Linked DNA regions of Homo sapiens: regions 2, 3, 4 and 5 are each linked to region 1. The links are contacts of gene promoters, found by promoter capture Hi-C in blood cells and fetal thymus (Javierre and others, 2016). All regions are on one chromosome and are shown on one strand. The core of a region is centred on a gene start or on the middle of the fragment in contact, and the rest is flanking DNA. Distances in the headings are between cores, read along the strand shown. Region 1 holds the start of PRPS1 (phosphoribosyl pyrophosphate synthetase 1). Region 2 holds the start of PSMD10 (proteasome 26S subunit, non-ATPase 10). Region 3 overlaps VSIG1 (V-set and immunoglobulin domain containing 1). Region 4 has its middle 25 kb from the start of VSIG1. Region 5 holds the start of TEX13B (testis expressed 13B).

What was found. Contacts are between HindIII fragments. The CHiCAGO score rates a contact against its expected background, and 5 or more counts as called.
Region 2: a contact is called between the fragment with the promoter of PSMD10 here and the fragment with the promoter of PRPS1 in region 1, in 1 of 17 cell types (total B cells). The highest score is 5.3, in total B cells.
Region 3: a contact is called between a fragment that was not itself captured here and the fragment with the promoter of PRPS1 in region 1, in 1 of 17 cell types (non-activated CD4 T cells). The highest score is 5.3, in non-activated CD4 T cells.
Region 4: a fragment that was not itself captured here is called in contact with the fragment with the promoter of PRPS1 in region 1 in 1 of 17 cell types (naive CD8 T cells); the score reaches 6.1 in naive CD8 T cells.
Region 5: the fragment with the promoter of TEX13B here is called in contact with the fragment with the promoter of PRPS1 in region 1 in 4 of 17 cell types (total CD4 T cells, endothelial precursors, naive CD8 T cells and 1 more); the score reaches 7.2 in total CD4 T cells.

What each region holds. Positions count from the first base shown.
Region 1 is chrX:107,627,194-107,629,854 of GRCh38, forward strand. PRPS1 (phosphoribosyl pyrophosphate synthetase 1) reads left to right here and starts at 1,317. Exons shown (of 7, transcript NM_002764.4): 1 at 1,317-1,557. The coding sequence starts at 1,436. RefSeq lists a silencer at 1,155-1,204. The HindIII fragment of the contact is 4,384 bases long and covers 1-1,786 here.
Region 2 is chrX:108,090,211-108,092,871 of GRCh38, forward strand. PSMD10 (proteasome 26S subunit, non-ATPase 10) reads right to left here and starts at 1,332. Exons shown (of 5, transcript NM_002814.4): 1 at 1,197-1,332. The coding sequence starts at 1,310. It overlaps ATG4A (autophagy related 4A cysteine peptidase), which reads left to right and starts at 1,568. Exons shown (of 13, transcript NM_052936.5): 1 at 1,568-1,626. The coding sequence starts at 1,617. RefSeq lists enhancers at 1,081-1,480, 1,531-1,770. The HindIII fragment of the contact is 5,520 bases long and covers 1-2,661 here.
Region 3 is chrX:108,069,210-108,071,870 of GRCh38, forward strand. All of the region lies in intron 3 of VSIG1 (V-set and immunoglobulin domain containing 1), which reads left to right. Among named protein-coding and RNA genes, the nearest start is that of PSMD10, 21 kb to the right of the region's middle. The HindIII fragment of the contact is 1,442 bases long and covers 598-2,039 here.
Region 4 is chrX:108,018,750-108,021,410 of GRCh38, forward strand. It overlaps a transcript of VSIG1 not described here. Among named protein-coding and RNA genes, the nearest start is that of VSIG1, 25 kb to the right of the region's middle. The HindIII fragment of the contact is 5,748 bases long and covers 1-2,661 here.
Region 5 is chrX:107,981,025-107,983,685 of GRCh38, forward strand. TEX13B (testis expressed 13B) reads right to left here and starts at 1,346. Exons shown (of 3, transcript NM_031273.2): 1 at 1,286-1,346; 2 at 645-1,135; 3 at 1-535. The coding sequence starts at 1,103. The coding sequence ends at 56. It also overlaps the pseudogene LOC112267910 and the pseudogene NLRP3P1. The HindIII fragment of the contact is 6,409 bases long and covers 1-2,661 here.

The DNA.
Region 1 (2,661 bases), core at 67-2,566:
AAATATTTGATGAATGGCCTATGATGGAAGACTACTAATATTCTGCCTTGCAGTTTACTTCCTTCTCCAAGTATTCCTATATACATGGGCCTACATTAAATTTCTGAGCTTGTAAAAGTGCAAAAAAGGTCAGAAGGAGAAGTCCTCCATGGACACTGCTGAAAATAGCAGTAAGACAAAGACAGGATGCTGCTTTGAGTATTTTCTGCCTTTGCCACTTAGATAAATCCCTCTCCCACCTCCATCTCAGTTTTATCATATGTAAAACGACTATATGATCTCTGAGGTCCCTTCTATTTTTACATTTGGTAGTTATGAGCACTATGGTCACTTTTGATTCCAGAATTGTATGATTTTTATCTTCTCCTAACCCATGCTTAAAATATGCTTAATGGAAACATGGTGCAAGAATAAAGGCTCACTTAGGTCCAATTAACAAGTATCGCTATAAAAATAATAAAACATGGTGTAAAAGGCCACATTAGCAACATGTAGCTGATGACATTGAGGCTTACATGAGGCAGACAGGACTAAAACCCAGGTTTTTTCAAATCCCTTCAGGGCTCTTTATCTGAAGTCCCATAGAACACTATACTTTCTTTCCTTTCCGAGGGCTATAAAAGTTAGATCTTTATTGTCCAGATAGTTTGGAAAATCCATCTTCCTTCACTTGTTTCAACATACTTGGTTCCAGCACTAGAAACAAAACAACTTTCTCTTGCAGTGTCTCTTGGATGATTCAGGTGGCATGCCTTCAGTCACTTCCCCCATGTAAACTGTCTTGCAGGCAAAGGCGACACTGCAATTACAATGGGCAAGCAAACTCCTTGCATGCACGTCTGTGATGTAAAAGTGTTTTAATTCAGCCCCATCCTTATAAAGAGATAAAAAATGTGTTCAGAAACATGCAAACTCGTGGCTGTCATCCTGATAAACAGATTTTCTTAAAGGAAACTGTAAACCAGAGCCAGACTTACTTTCCTGCGCTGAGGGAGGGGAAATAAAAAAGCAGGCATGGTTGATTTCCCGCTAGCGGGAACGATCTGGCCTCAGACGTCACCAGCATCCCTCCACCCCCAGTCCAACGTCTCCTGTCCCCAACAGCCTAGCTACAGGGGGCCGGGCTATGGGTTAGTCTCGCCCCCGTTCATGCTCTTCACCCAATACCTGAGAGAATCGGAAGGAGGCAGAGCTACACCGAGGACCAAACCCCGCCCTTCGCTCCCTCTTAGCTAATCGTTGCCAGCGGGGTGTGGACTTCGCCGCTGACCCCACCTCCGCCGCTTTGGGTAATTTAGAGCCGCGCGCCGGGCGGGAATGTAAGATGGCGGAGTAGCAACGCAAAGCGCTTGGTATTGAGTCTGTGGCCGACTTCGGTTCCGGTCTCTGCAGCAGCCGTGATCGCTTAGTGGAGTGCTTAGGGTAGTTGGCCAGGATGCCGAATATCAAAATCTTCAGCGGCAGCTCCCACCAGGACTTATCTCAGAAAATTGCTGACCGCCTGGGCCTGGAGCTAGGCAAGGTGGTGACTAAGAAATTCAGCAACCAGGAGACCTGGTAAGGACCAAGTTGGGACCCTGACTAGACCTCACCTGCCCAGGCGGCAGAGTATAGGAGGGATGGGGTCGCCGCTTGAGCTCAAACAGACTGGGGGTTGGGGGGAGAGGGTGCAGCTCTGTGACTAGCCTACCCCACGGGCTGTTTCCGTTATTTTACCTCTCGCGGGAGGGTCACGTTCATTCTTACCGTGCGGTGGGGTGGAGTCAAAAGATGGAGTGTGAGGCGAAGCTTCTGCGTTTGAGGGCAAGGGCTGGGGGACCCAATAGATAGTGGCTGCATAGAGCGACGAGAGGGGACCGACGCTTAGCCAGGGCGGTAGGGACACGTGGCTTGGCTTTGCTGTTGAGCCACCCAGGCTGGACTGGGTTGCTTCAGCTCTTAGACTAGCTTGCATTTAGAGAGCCTACCTGCGTACTGAGCTCTCCTGGTCTTTCTTTTCCTAGAGTCCAATAAGCAGCTTTTTGATTCGAAATGGTGTTGGTCCGTTCGGCTTGGTGTTGAGGGAAACTGACATTATATACTGCAGGCGCCAAAATTATTACGACTTCCCTTAGATCAGCAAGCGTTGGCTTTTCTCATCTTATGAATCATCTACCTGAGTAATTGGAGCCATAAATCTAGTTGATTTGTTAAAGTGATGCGTTGACTCTGCATCCTTGATAGCCAGCATCTCAGCTTGAGCCATCCAAAAAATCTTGGAAATCTCAATTCTGGAATGTTTGACCTTCCCCAGTGCAGCTAGTGGTACAGATAATGCAAAAGCGTATTTTTCAGTAACCGAGTCCATCCTGGACTTGGCTCCTTCTTTAAGCTCTGTGTAGGGAATTTAGGAAACAATTTTATACCTGAATGTTAAAGATAATTGAGGACAGGCAATGTAGTGGAAGACTAGGATTGGACAGTGCATTGCAACTTGCGTTTTTTCCATTGCCTTGCCAGTAAAACTTGCTTCCTCGACTCCGACTTACACCCTCTACCGGCACCATGGGACTGTTTTAGAGATGACTTGGTTACCTGATTATTTCAGTGCCCCTTCCACCTAAGTGTGGGATCTTTAGTTTCTGATAGGTGTAATTTGTATTTTATTGTTACCCTATCGAT
Region 2 (2,661 bases), core at 82-2,581, 460 kb after region 1:
TCCTTTAGAATGTCTAATATCCGGTCTGTATTCAGATTGCCCCCAACTGTCTCCCAAATGTCTTTTTGCAGTTGGTTTGTTTAAATCAGGAACCAGACGAGATCCATAAATTGCATTTCTTCATGTTTTTTACGTCTCTTGATGCTGAATAGTTCCTTTCCCTTTTTAAGCCACTGACTTGACTGAAGAATGGTTAAATTTCCAATGGAGTATTAAATCTTAATATAAAGTATTACATTTAAATTTAAATCCTTAAATATCACCAGACCATAATGAAGTAAACCAGGTAAAGATAAGGCCATTTTCAGGTTGAGTAATAAAGGAAAGTTCCAGAAAAGAGAAAACAGTCTCTTGATTTCTAATTCTCTCCCAAAAGACACAAAATGGAGATCTGTAAGTATGGGACAGTCTCACTAGTGCTTACGACACTGTCTGCGAAACACAAGGCCATCTATAAATATTTGTGGGCTTACTAAAGGCACCATGAATCCTAGAAACTGAGGATGAAAGCACGAGAGTCCTGTGAGCAGGAGGGCAGAAAGAAACACTTCTAAACTTCTGTCTACCTCTGCTTAGAATGTCCACTCATTCCCCCATGGAAATCCCACTCATGCTTCAAAGTCTAACTAACCTTCCCTTCTTTGCAAAAACTTTTCCAATTAACGACAGTCATATTCAGCATCAGATCCTCCTATTAACGTGTTCTGAAAGCACCATGTAAACTTCTCTGCCGAGTATTTACCACAATTTGTAATCGGACATGTTTTTGTGCTTATTTTATTGTCTGCATCTTCCACTCCACCGTATCCCCAGCTCCTAGCAAACTGCCTGGCACGGAAGGGGCGTTCAATTTCACATGCGTTACTGAATACAGTTACTAGTAAAGGTAAATAAATCCATATAAAAAGCCTTCCTTTTCACTGATTGGGAGTTTCTGAGAAATGCGGTAGACGTTCTAGAACTATCCAAAAATCAGGGAGCGGAGCTCCGGGCCAACGGGAAAATATCTGAGGTCTGTGGGGCTAGCTCCCGCAGGCCTATCGCGAGTCCCGAGGTGACCCAGGGGGACTGCTTGGGGCGGCGGGGGCGGGGTTCTGCTTCTCTCAGAAACGGGGCCTCCGCTAGGGCCGGGCCCCGAAAGCCACGTAGGGCTTCGCCGACGTCGCCGACTGCGGAGAGACCTAGCGTTGCTTTACCTGGTCAGTTCTAGTAGCCAGGGATTTATCGGCCAGAATACTCTCCTTCAACTCTTCCAGCTTCCCGCTGTAGGCCAGGTTGCAGACCATTAGGTTAGACACACACCCCTCCATTTCGCTGTCCCAGCAACTACTTGTCGCGCGAGCAACGCCCGCCTCACGTCGCCGGCTCCGGCTACGCCAGTCAAAACAGCCGTTAGAGCTTCACCAATCACCGGCCTTCCTCGTTCCCTTTTCTTTTCCCGTCGCGCGGCGCCTCTGGGAGTTGCAGTTTGAGAGCAGTTCCGGGCAGGGAGGCGCCTTTGCTGCCCTCACAGACTTGGCCCCTAGCAGTGCAGAACTACAAGTCCCAGGGATCCTAGCGACCGTCCGTCCGTAGTCAAGTTGCCGGTGGAATTGGCCCAGGATGACAGCTGGAGAATGGAGTCAGGTACGGGGAGCGGCTTTGAGTGGAACCGTGTGAAAGAGCCGGGGTGGGTAGTCGCTGGCGGGTCGTTGAGTCGGCCATATGAAACAGGTTCGGGGGCAGGGCAAGAGTTATGAGAGCCTAAAGGTCCTGTCCCCCGGGGTTCCTGACCTGCAGTGGCAGGCGGAAGGGACAAGGGTTGGAGCTGAGTACTACCTACTGAGCTCGAACCGGTGACTGTGGCTACCCTCCCCCTCCCTGCCACCGCCTAGGGAGTGGAAAGAAGTGGGGGTTAATTACTCTGACATCTCGGCGGTGTGGCATCAGGACAGGGTTCTACCACAGCAGTGATAGCATATGGCACCGTACTGAGGTGATGTGCCAGGGTGATGCCAAAGGCAGGGTGTGATGCCGTGGGAGCCACCTGATATCTAAGAGACCTCGGTGAGTCCATAGCCTGGTGACATCACAGCTTGATGAGGGTCATCTTAAGGATACCGGGCTGTGGTGTTGGCATTTTAATATCACGATATTAACTATGTTGTCAAGGCTTTGCTACAACTATTAAGCTAATAGTGTTTCTTTTTATAGAAATCCCAAATAGTGCCATAGCAGAAGCAATGCAAGACTGATCCTTTATAGGGCATATCCAGAGGACATTATGCCACAACTAGGTAACGATAAGAATACATTCAAGAAAGAGACTCATGATGTTTATGTTTATCCTGTTATAGTGTAGAACAGGAGTTGGGAAACTTTCTGTAAAGAGCCAGATAGTAAATATTTTAGGCTTTGTAGGCCAAAAGGCAAAATCAAGAATATTTTGTTGGTACTTTTATGACAAAAGAGAAAACAAATTTCAACAAATTTTTATTGATGAAATTCAAAATATAATAGTAATTGAGTACTTTTTTTGTAATACAGGAAGACTACCAATGAGAAGAATAGAATTCTTTTTAGGGGATAATATTTTGCTTAATTGGGGCTCAGAATTAGTGTTCCCTATTGTCAAAATTGATTTTAAGTGTTCATCTGTTAATGCTGATCTGTTAGGAAATT
Region 3 (2,661 bases), core at 69-2,568, 440 kb after region 1:
GGTCACTTCATCTCAGAGGTGTTTTTTCCCATGAGTCTTTGTGTCAGATAGCTCTGTGTCATGACTTTTCCTTAAGCAGCCAGGATCCAGACAAGGTAAGAGGCAGAAGGGTCTGTGGATTTCCTTGTTTGTTTAGGAACTCTAAAAAATATTGTTTTTGTTAATTGGGCAAAGAACAAAGGCCTCCTCCAAATGTAGGCTTTTTGGAAAATTTGAGACTGCTAATTTTCTCTAAAAATTGCAGCGACTATTTGCAATTCTCAAATCTCATTGTATATGAGTGACAATTTTGCTTGCCCTGACTGAAAGGTGAGGCAAGATGGGGACAGGTGGGTAAGAGAGACAGGTTAATTGTGGGGAGAGGTGTTGATATTTCCTTAAAGATGACTCTCATAGCAATGTATCTTTCAGATGTTTTGTTACCCAGCAGTGAGCATCAATCCCATGCATTTACTCGTTCATGCATGAATTCATTTAACAAACCCTGAGCACACGTGCCAGTTACTGTGCTAAGCAATGGACATGGGGAAATGTAAAAGATAGGGTCTTAGCCCTCTAAAATTCAGTCTAGTGAAGGAGACAGACGCGTAACATAAAAGCTTTCAGTGGAGGTATGAGAGGAGAGCTATGAGGGCACAGGGGAAAGGGCAAAAAGCTGTATCAGGAATTGGAGAAGGCTTATTGAGGAAAGTGACTTTTGTGCTGAATGTTGAAGGATGTGCAAGAGTGTGTGATGAAGAAGAGGGGCTGAGATGGCAAGGCACAGTTTAGGTGAAGGAAACAGCAATGGGCAAAGAACCAGGTGGTTTGGATGGCCATTCATTTGAGAGCTTTCCATTAGGTATGACAACCTTGGAAAATTAATCTCTGAAAAATACCCAGATCAAGTTTGAATAATTATTTTGTGTGCATTTGGAATGAGCATCATCTACCTTCCGCAATTTGGCACATAAAAAGAAAATGATTGATTTAGGGAAGGTTTAAGAACCTACTGAAGCACTTTGTTTTTTCTTTTTTCTTTTTTTTTCTGAGCTGAGCCTTTTCCTCCCACCCCAATTCTGTTGAAAGCAATAAAGCTAAATGGTAGATCAATGGCTTTGCCAGTAAAATACCCAAGTTCCACTGGGGACTTTAACTGGATGAAATTTCAGTTCAATCCTGGGTCAGTAGTTTTAGAAAATATATAGGTTTGGGACTTGGTTCAAAGTGATTCACTAAATGTTTTGTTAATAAAAAATAAAAGGAGAAAAATATTCTAAGCAAAAAAAATGCCTATCTGGGTTTGATTCTGGGCTCAAGAAATGAGTGCAAGTCATTCCAGGTTTTTGCCATAATTTAGTTCAAGTCCTGGTGTCCAACTTTGTGATGAAACACCCCCATTTAATTTTCTGTTCAAATTGTTCTATTCTGCTGTAAAGGCTATACAATAGCCATCTTTTTAAAAAGGCAGTATCTAAATCTAGTGATAGCTGCAATGGACTTCTGGTTAAATAGCTTAGTTTAGGATAGGCACATCCAACAAGTTGTTCCTACCTGAGAAAATCTTTGATAAGAAAGAATAAAGAACTAAGTAGAAGGATATTCCTTTCAATTAAAAAGACACATGCTTAAAAGATAGGGCTAGTAAACTGTTTAAGAATTATAGCTATATGCATCTGTCTTCTCGCACCTGTGTACAGATAGTGAGAGTCTGGGAAGGCTGAACTGAGCGGAAGTCAATGGGAGAGTAACTTTAGTAGCAGGAATTAGTGCTGCTGTGGCCAACAGAAATTCCAGGTTCTAGGCCCTATATTTATTATTGTATTTAATACTTGGATCAGCCAGAGGTTAGATAATCTCTTAGTCACGTTTTACAGATGAGTCAGCTGAGGTTTGGCTAAGTTAGGTAACTTGCCTATACAGATCCAGGGTAGAGTTACAAAGCCCGTATTCTGTGTGGATCCAGAGCTGTGCCCTTAACCACTGCGTCTCAGGTAAGAGCTGTAGGACTGAGTAATATGACACATTTCATGTCTAACTCACCTAAATTAGAGAACCTAAGCTTTAAAGGGTTCTAGAGCAAAATGAAGATAAGCAAGGTGAGTTGGAAAGTATAGAAATTTACATCATTGTCTGTATATAAGATAGATATATAAGGTGTATAAGATAGATGTATAGATATAAAATAAATATCTAAGATAAGAGATATAAGATAGATATGTAGATATGATAGATATATAAATGTATAAGATATGTAAGATAGAATAAACCGTGCAAGTAAGTAAGATGAATGAGGAGATTCAGATTCCCAGCTTCCCACAGGACTTCTCCCCTGACATGTTTTCATAAGCAGCTAAAACTCTATGTCCCGGACTGACCTCATTAGTACCCCTTCCTCCTTGTCACCCCTTCACCTAAAACCTGTTCTTCCTGCTGTGGTCTTGGAGGCCTCTTCCCCTCTCTAAAGTCATCTCTCATCCCTCTCCCACCCCACTTTAGAACTGTGTGAAAGTTACTTTTGAATTCCTGGTGCCTAGTCCCATGCCAGGCCCACAGAAGGCATGGGTGCTTGCTGAGTGAAGGATGAATAAATATTTCAGTGCTGAGTAGCGTGCACCCCCCAAATGGACTTCCCCTACTGATGATGCACACAGGCAAATTTAAACCTTTCAACTATTTGTG
Region 4 (2,661 bases), core at 94-2,593, 390 kb after region 1:
AGTGTAGTCTCTGTATGATTTCTTTGTCTGTAAACAGTGTCAGTGGTGTCTGTCATTTCCTTTGTGGCTTAGGGTGTGGTTATTAGTGGAGGTTACAGTGAAGTTCTGCTGGGGACTGGGATGACAGGTAAGCTAGTCTTTGGGCCCTCGTGGTGGTAACGGTGCACTGAGTGCTCCTGTTCCTGGGCTTCAGGGCAGCATATGCTGGCACCACTGTTAGTGTGTCCAGGTAAGCTAATTCTGGGGCCTCCAGGTGGCTTAATTGGGTGCTGGAAGTGGCAGCAGTGGGCCAGGCAGGTGAACAGGTTCTCTAGCCCCTGGGCAGTGAGCATAGCAGGGGCAATGTCGGTACCAGTGGTGAGACAACACTTTGGGATATAAGTGTTCCACTCTGGTATTGGCAGGAGCTGTGATGGGTTGAGAGGGCTGGTGCCCAGAACTGTGAGTGGCAATGTGCAAGTGGGTGCCAGTTGTGGTGATAGCAGAGGTTGAGTGTGCCTGACTTCAGACTCCAGGAGGATTACTCAGGTGCCACTATGGTGAACTGGGCTGTGTGACCTGCAGTCCCTGATGTGCTTGTGTACTGGGGTGGAGGTAGCCTGGCCAAATTGTGCTTCAACCCTGCCCCCCCGTGTTGCATATAAATGCTGGCTTTTGTATGCATGGGCAGGGTGAGCCCTATGCCACCAGTGGAATGATCAGGTGGAGGTGGCATGGCTGTGCTGCAGCCCTGATATTGAACAGGTTGAGGTTGCCTTCCATGGGAGCAGCCATAGGCAGAGAGTTGAGGGGCATGGGCTTCACTTGTACCTTGGCCCACAGTGTCTGCAGCTGCAGCAGTTGCAGGCAGTGGAATCTGTCCTTTGCACATGAGAATGTGCAGCCACCCCTCTTCGGGGGAGGTTAGAATTGTTTTCTGTGGCTTCTGCCTCAGCCCTAGTTGCAGGGCAGCATGTAGTCTGGTGTGGGTTGGGCTTTCAAAATGGTGCTATGCTGACACTACTTAGAACTTGGGGGTTTGTGGGACCCAGCATGAGTTTTCCCTCTGAAACAATGCCTTCACACAGTTTCCAGGGAACTTTCTATGTTAGTCTTCGGCCAGCAAGGATTGGGGGACTCTACCACGGCTAGGATTTTAGGAACCTGAAGCAGGAGCCACTGGGAGTCTCTCGCTTATCCTTTCCCCACACAGGAGAGTCTCTCCTGGCTCCCAGCCGATCTTGGTTAGGAGGCCAACTTGCTTCCTTCTCCTTTCTTGCTCTGGGTGTTTCCTGCCACTTCTGTGTTGAATTTCAGTATTCTCTCTGATGATCTATTCAAAGTGTGATTATCTACTCACTATTTTGGTTTTTCCTAGTGGAGGAGGCAAGTAAGAGATGCCTCTAATCAACCATTTGAACGCCTCACCAGGTGGTAATTTTCTATATCTTGTAGGTGATGTTTGTTCCTTTTACCTTTTTTTCTTTTTCCCTTTGTGTATTTTCAAATAGCCTGTCTTTGAGCTCACTGATTCTTTCCTCTGCTTGATCCATTTGGCTATTGGAAGCCGCTAATAAATTTTTCATTTCAGCAAAAGTATTTTTCAGTGATTCCTGTATGATTTTTTAAAAAAATCAATCTCTGTTAAATTTTTCTGATAAATTTCTGAATTGCTTTTCTGTGTTATCTTGGAGATCACTGAGTTTCCTTAAAACTACTGTTTTGAATTCTTGGTCAGAGAGGTTAAATATCATCATCTAATTAGGGTGTGAATCACTGGTTGCTTGCTTTGTCTGTTTGAGGAGGTCTTGGTTTTGTGTTTGCTGTTGTTTCTTGTGTATGTACATCTATGTCTTTGCAGTGAAGGATTAGCTACTTATACCAGTCTTCTCTGTCTGGCTTGTTTTGGTTTTTATTAAATATGTTTGATTAGAGATTCTTTGCAATTTACCTGTTATCTTTTTTCCCACTAGGTCACTGCCTCTTTTTTTGCACTAGATGGCGCCTTAATTAAGCTCAGGTTTGCCTCCTCAGTTCTGGTACTCAATCAGGGTGCCACCAGTCCGAAATGGGGAAGGTCCCAAATAGGATATCCTGTTAGTATGGGAAGACTGGTCAGGGGTTCATGCCTGGAGATCTGTGGAATGAACCTCTTACAGCATGGTGCTGCTGAACAGCTAATCTGTTTTGGCATCTCTTGACTGATTTACACAGCAGAGTTTCCAGGGCTGAGGATGGCAGTCCCACTTCCCCTACTTGTCTGTGGCTGTCTACAGAAATATTCCTCTCTTCAGGTACTCTCAATGCTTCCCATGAGTTGAGGCAGAGACAGGTCTCCTGTCAGGTAACCTAAGATGATGGGAAGCTGTTGTTTACCTCAATCATACTTTTTCCAGTGTGGAAACTATGAGTTGGGGGAAATTTTTCTATGCACTTAGTGCTGGGCAGATTGGGGGAAAGGGCATCACAAATATGGAAGTTTGATCCTCTAACATCTGCTCAGAGTTTTTTTCACTTCTCTGCTGCCCTGGGAACTGTCTTATCCTCATATTTGAGTTCTGGGATGTTGCTGGTGATAATCTCAATGCCGTATATTTGTTTTTGGTTTTGAGGGTAGGAAGTAAAACCAGCTTGTTTCTATGCCACCATTTTGAAGTGGGAAGTCTAAATTGGGTTGTTTGT
Region 5 (2,661 bases), core at 96-2,595, 350 kb after region 1:
TGGGGGCTCTTGAGGGTCTATTCCCTGGGCCTCCACATCTGACCACAGGCTAGCATCAGAGGCCCCCCAGTTGAAAGGCATCTGAGTTGGAACCCGTTCTGTGACCTTTGCTGGTGAAGGGGGTATATTGGGTATGGCTGAGAAGGCGGACAAAGGGCATGGGTATGAGTATGTGAATGAGGTAGGGAGCTGGACAGGAAGAGGCTCCAGTGAGACTGTGGACCCAAGCCCAGAGAAGACAGACATGGCTGTTTGTACTGACCTGAGATCTTTCTCCCTCTGCCCCGCAAAGGTGTAATTTGCCTGCTACAATAGCTCCGAGGGGCTGCCTGAAGCCTCCTCCCAGCCCCTGCAAGACCTCTGCGGGGGCAGGCCCTGCCTCTGCATACCTCTCCTCTCCTTTTCCTCCAGCAGCACCAGCAGCAGCCACCGCCTCCTTTTCCTGCTCACCTGCTCCTTCTGTCCAATCCCCTCCGGCAGTGGCCAGGCCTGGAAACACTGTAGCCTGGCCCTGTCCCTGGGGAGGTGCCAGCTCCTGGAGAGAAGTAGGCAGAGCTGAAACACATTCTGGGGACAGGGCAGGGGGTCCGGACAGGTTGGGGCAGGGCAGAGGCATTGGACAGGGACCATTCGGGGGATCTTACGGCATGGAAGAGCTTCCATCTCAGCATGTCCCGCTCTCTCTGCACCTCCGCAAGGCTGGTCTCGGTTAGCTGCAACTGGAAGGTCGCCTCATTGCATTCCATCTCCTGCTGTTCCTTGAGTTCCGTCAGGTTTGAGGCCAAGACCAGCGCAGCTGATCTGTGCAGTTTGGCAAAGCCTTGCAGCCACTGCACCCTGCGGTTTTGTAACTGCCCCTGCCTGTGGGCAAAGCGCACACCCAAGGCCAGGCTGCCCCAGGTGCAGGCCTCTTTGACCTCGCTGGGCACCTCGCTGTCCTCCAGGATGGCCCTGAGCTTGTCTTCCACCTCCTCCCAGGATAAGGATATATTCTCGAAGTAGAACTCGGGGCCTTTCGTGTGCCTGGCCATTTTCTCGATGATGAAGGCCACCACGTTTCCGTGCCGGAACCCACTACTGGGGTCCTCAGGTCTCAAGGCCATGATCGCCTAGGGGCTTAACGGTTTCACTAGCCCTGTGTGGATGGAGCAGCCAATAGGTTTCTTTCCTCCTCCTTAGCCCCTCCCCTCATCTGTCTTCTCCGCCCTCCCACCTCTGACAAGACCCTCCTAATGACCCTCTGACCGGCTTGTCCTACCCTAGGACATCTCCCACCAGGCCTCACCTCTTCAGCCAGGGCCAGAGGAAGTACAGGCCAACCCCGCTGCTTAACACGCCTGAAGAGAGGGTGGCCTCTTTCCCTCCTAGGGCTCTGCGGGAAAAGAAGCCTCAGGGCCAACCCATGAGGATTTTACTCTGGGACTGTTCCAATTTCCAGAGACTGTAGGGGTGAAAGGGAGTGAGTGAGGAAGGCCTCTGCCATTCCACTGGGACAAAAGGGAACCTGCCACATGGTCGGGAGACCTTGAAGGCTGAAAGAAACAGGAGTGGTCCGGAAGGACTTAGGACCAAAAAAAGTATTTGTGAACAAGTTGAAGACTTATCCCTCCCCATCATAATGGTTTGTGCCATGCCAGGGGAGTTTCGCCCCCAACTGGAATATTCTAGAGCAGGAAACAGCCCCAACCCCTCAGTTGCCCTTGGAGGAAGAGGGTGGAGCCAGGAGCGGAGCTTATCCCCTGTTTGCTCAGGACTAAACATCCCAGACACCCTAACAAATCCTGGCCTGCCTTTCCTCCCTTAGCTCCTCTTTCCCCACACTCCTCCCATCACCCCTTCTCCCACTCCTCCCCTACTGAAACGCCTTGAATCTTGAAGCAACTGTGGGAGAAAGAGAGTTAGGAGTAGCATAAATACACCTTTTTACCAAAACATGAAATATCAGAGATCTTCCATCAGAGGGATATGAATATGTCTCTTAAAACCTTCGGCCGGGCGCGGTGGCTCATGCCTGTAATCCCAGTACTTTGGGAGACCGAGATGGGCGGATCACGAGGTCAGAAGATCGAGACCATCCTGGCTAACAGGGTGAAACCCCGTCTCTACTAAAATTACAAAAAATTAGCCAGATGTGGTGGCACGCGCATGTAGTCCCAGCTACTCGGGAGGCTGAGGCAGGAGAATCGCTTGAACCCACGAGGCGGAGGTTGCAGTGAGCCGAGATCGCACCACTGCACTGTAGCCTGGGTGACAGAGTGAGACTCTGTCTCAAACAAACAAACACAAAAACAAGAAAACCTTGAATGACTTTCTGAGACCCACAAGATAAATCAGACAAATCTCAGGTTGAGTCCAGCGTTGCTACGTATTACATGACATTGTACTGTAACTGAATCTGTTTCTACCTATGGATCTATGATGATGGCCAATGACAAAAGGGCATGTAAAGTTGTAGGAGTAATGTTTTCTATGATCCCGTATTTGTGTGTATGTGTGTGTTTGCATATGTTTGTATGTTTCTATAATCTTGGAGAACAGAATGAGAGAGGATATATAGCAGACTCAACATTAATTATCTCTGGGAAGTGGGGTTGGACTGGAGGTTAGAAAAAAAGTTTTTAACTTTAAAATACATTTTTCTCTAATTTCGCTTGTTACAAA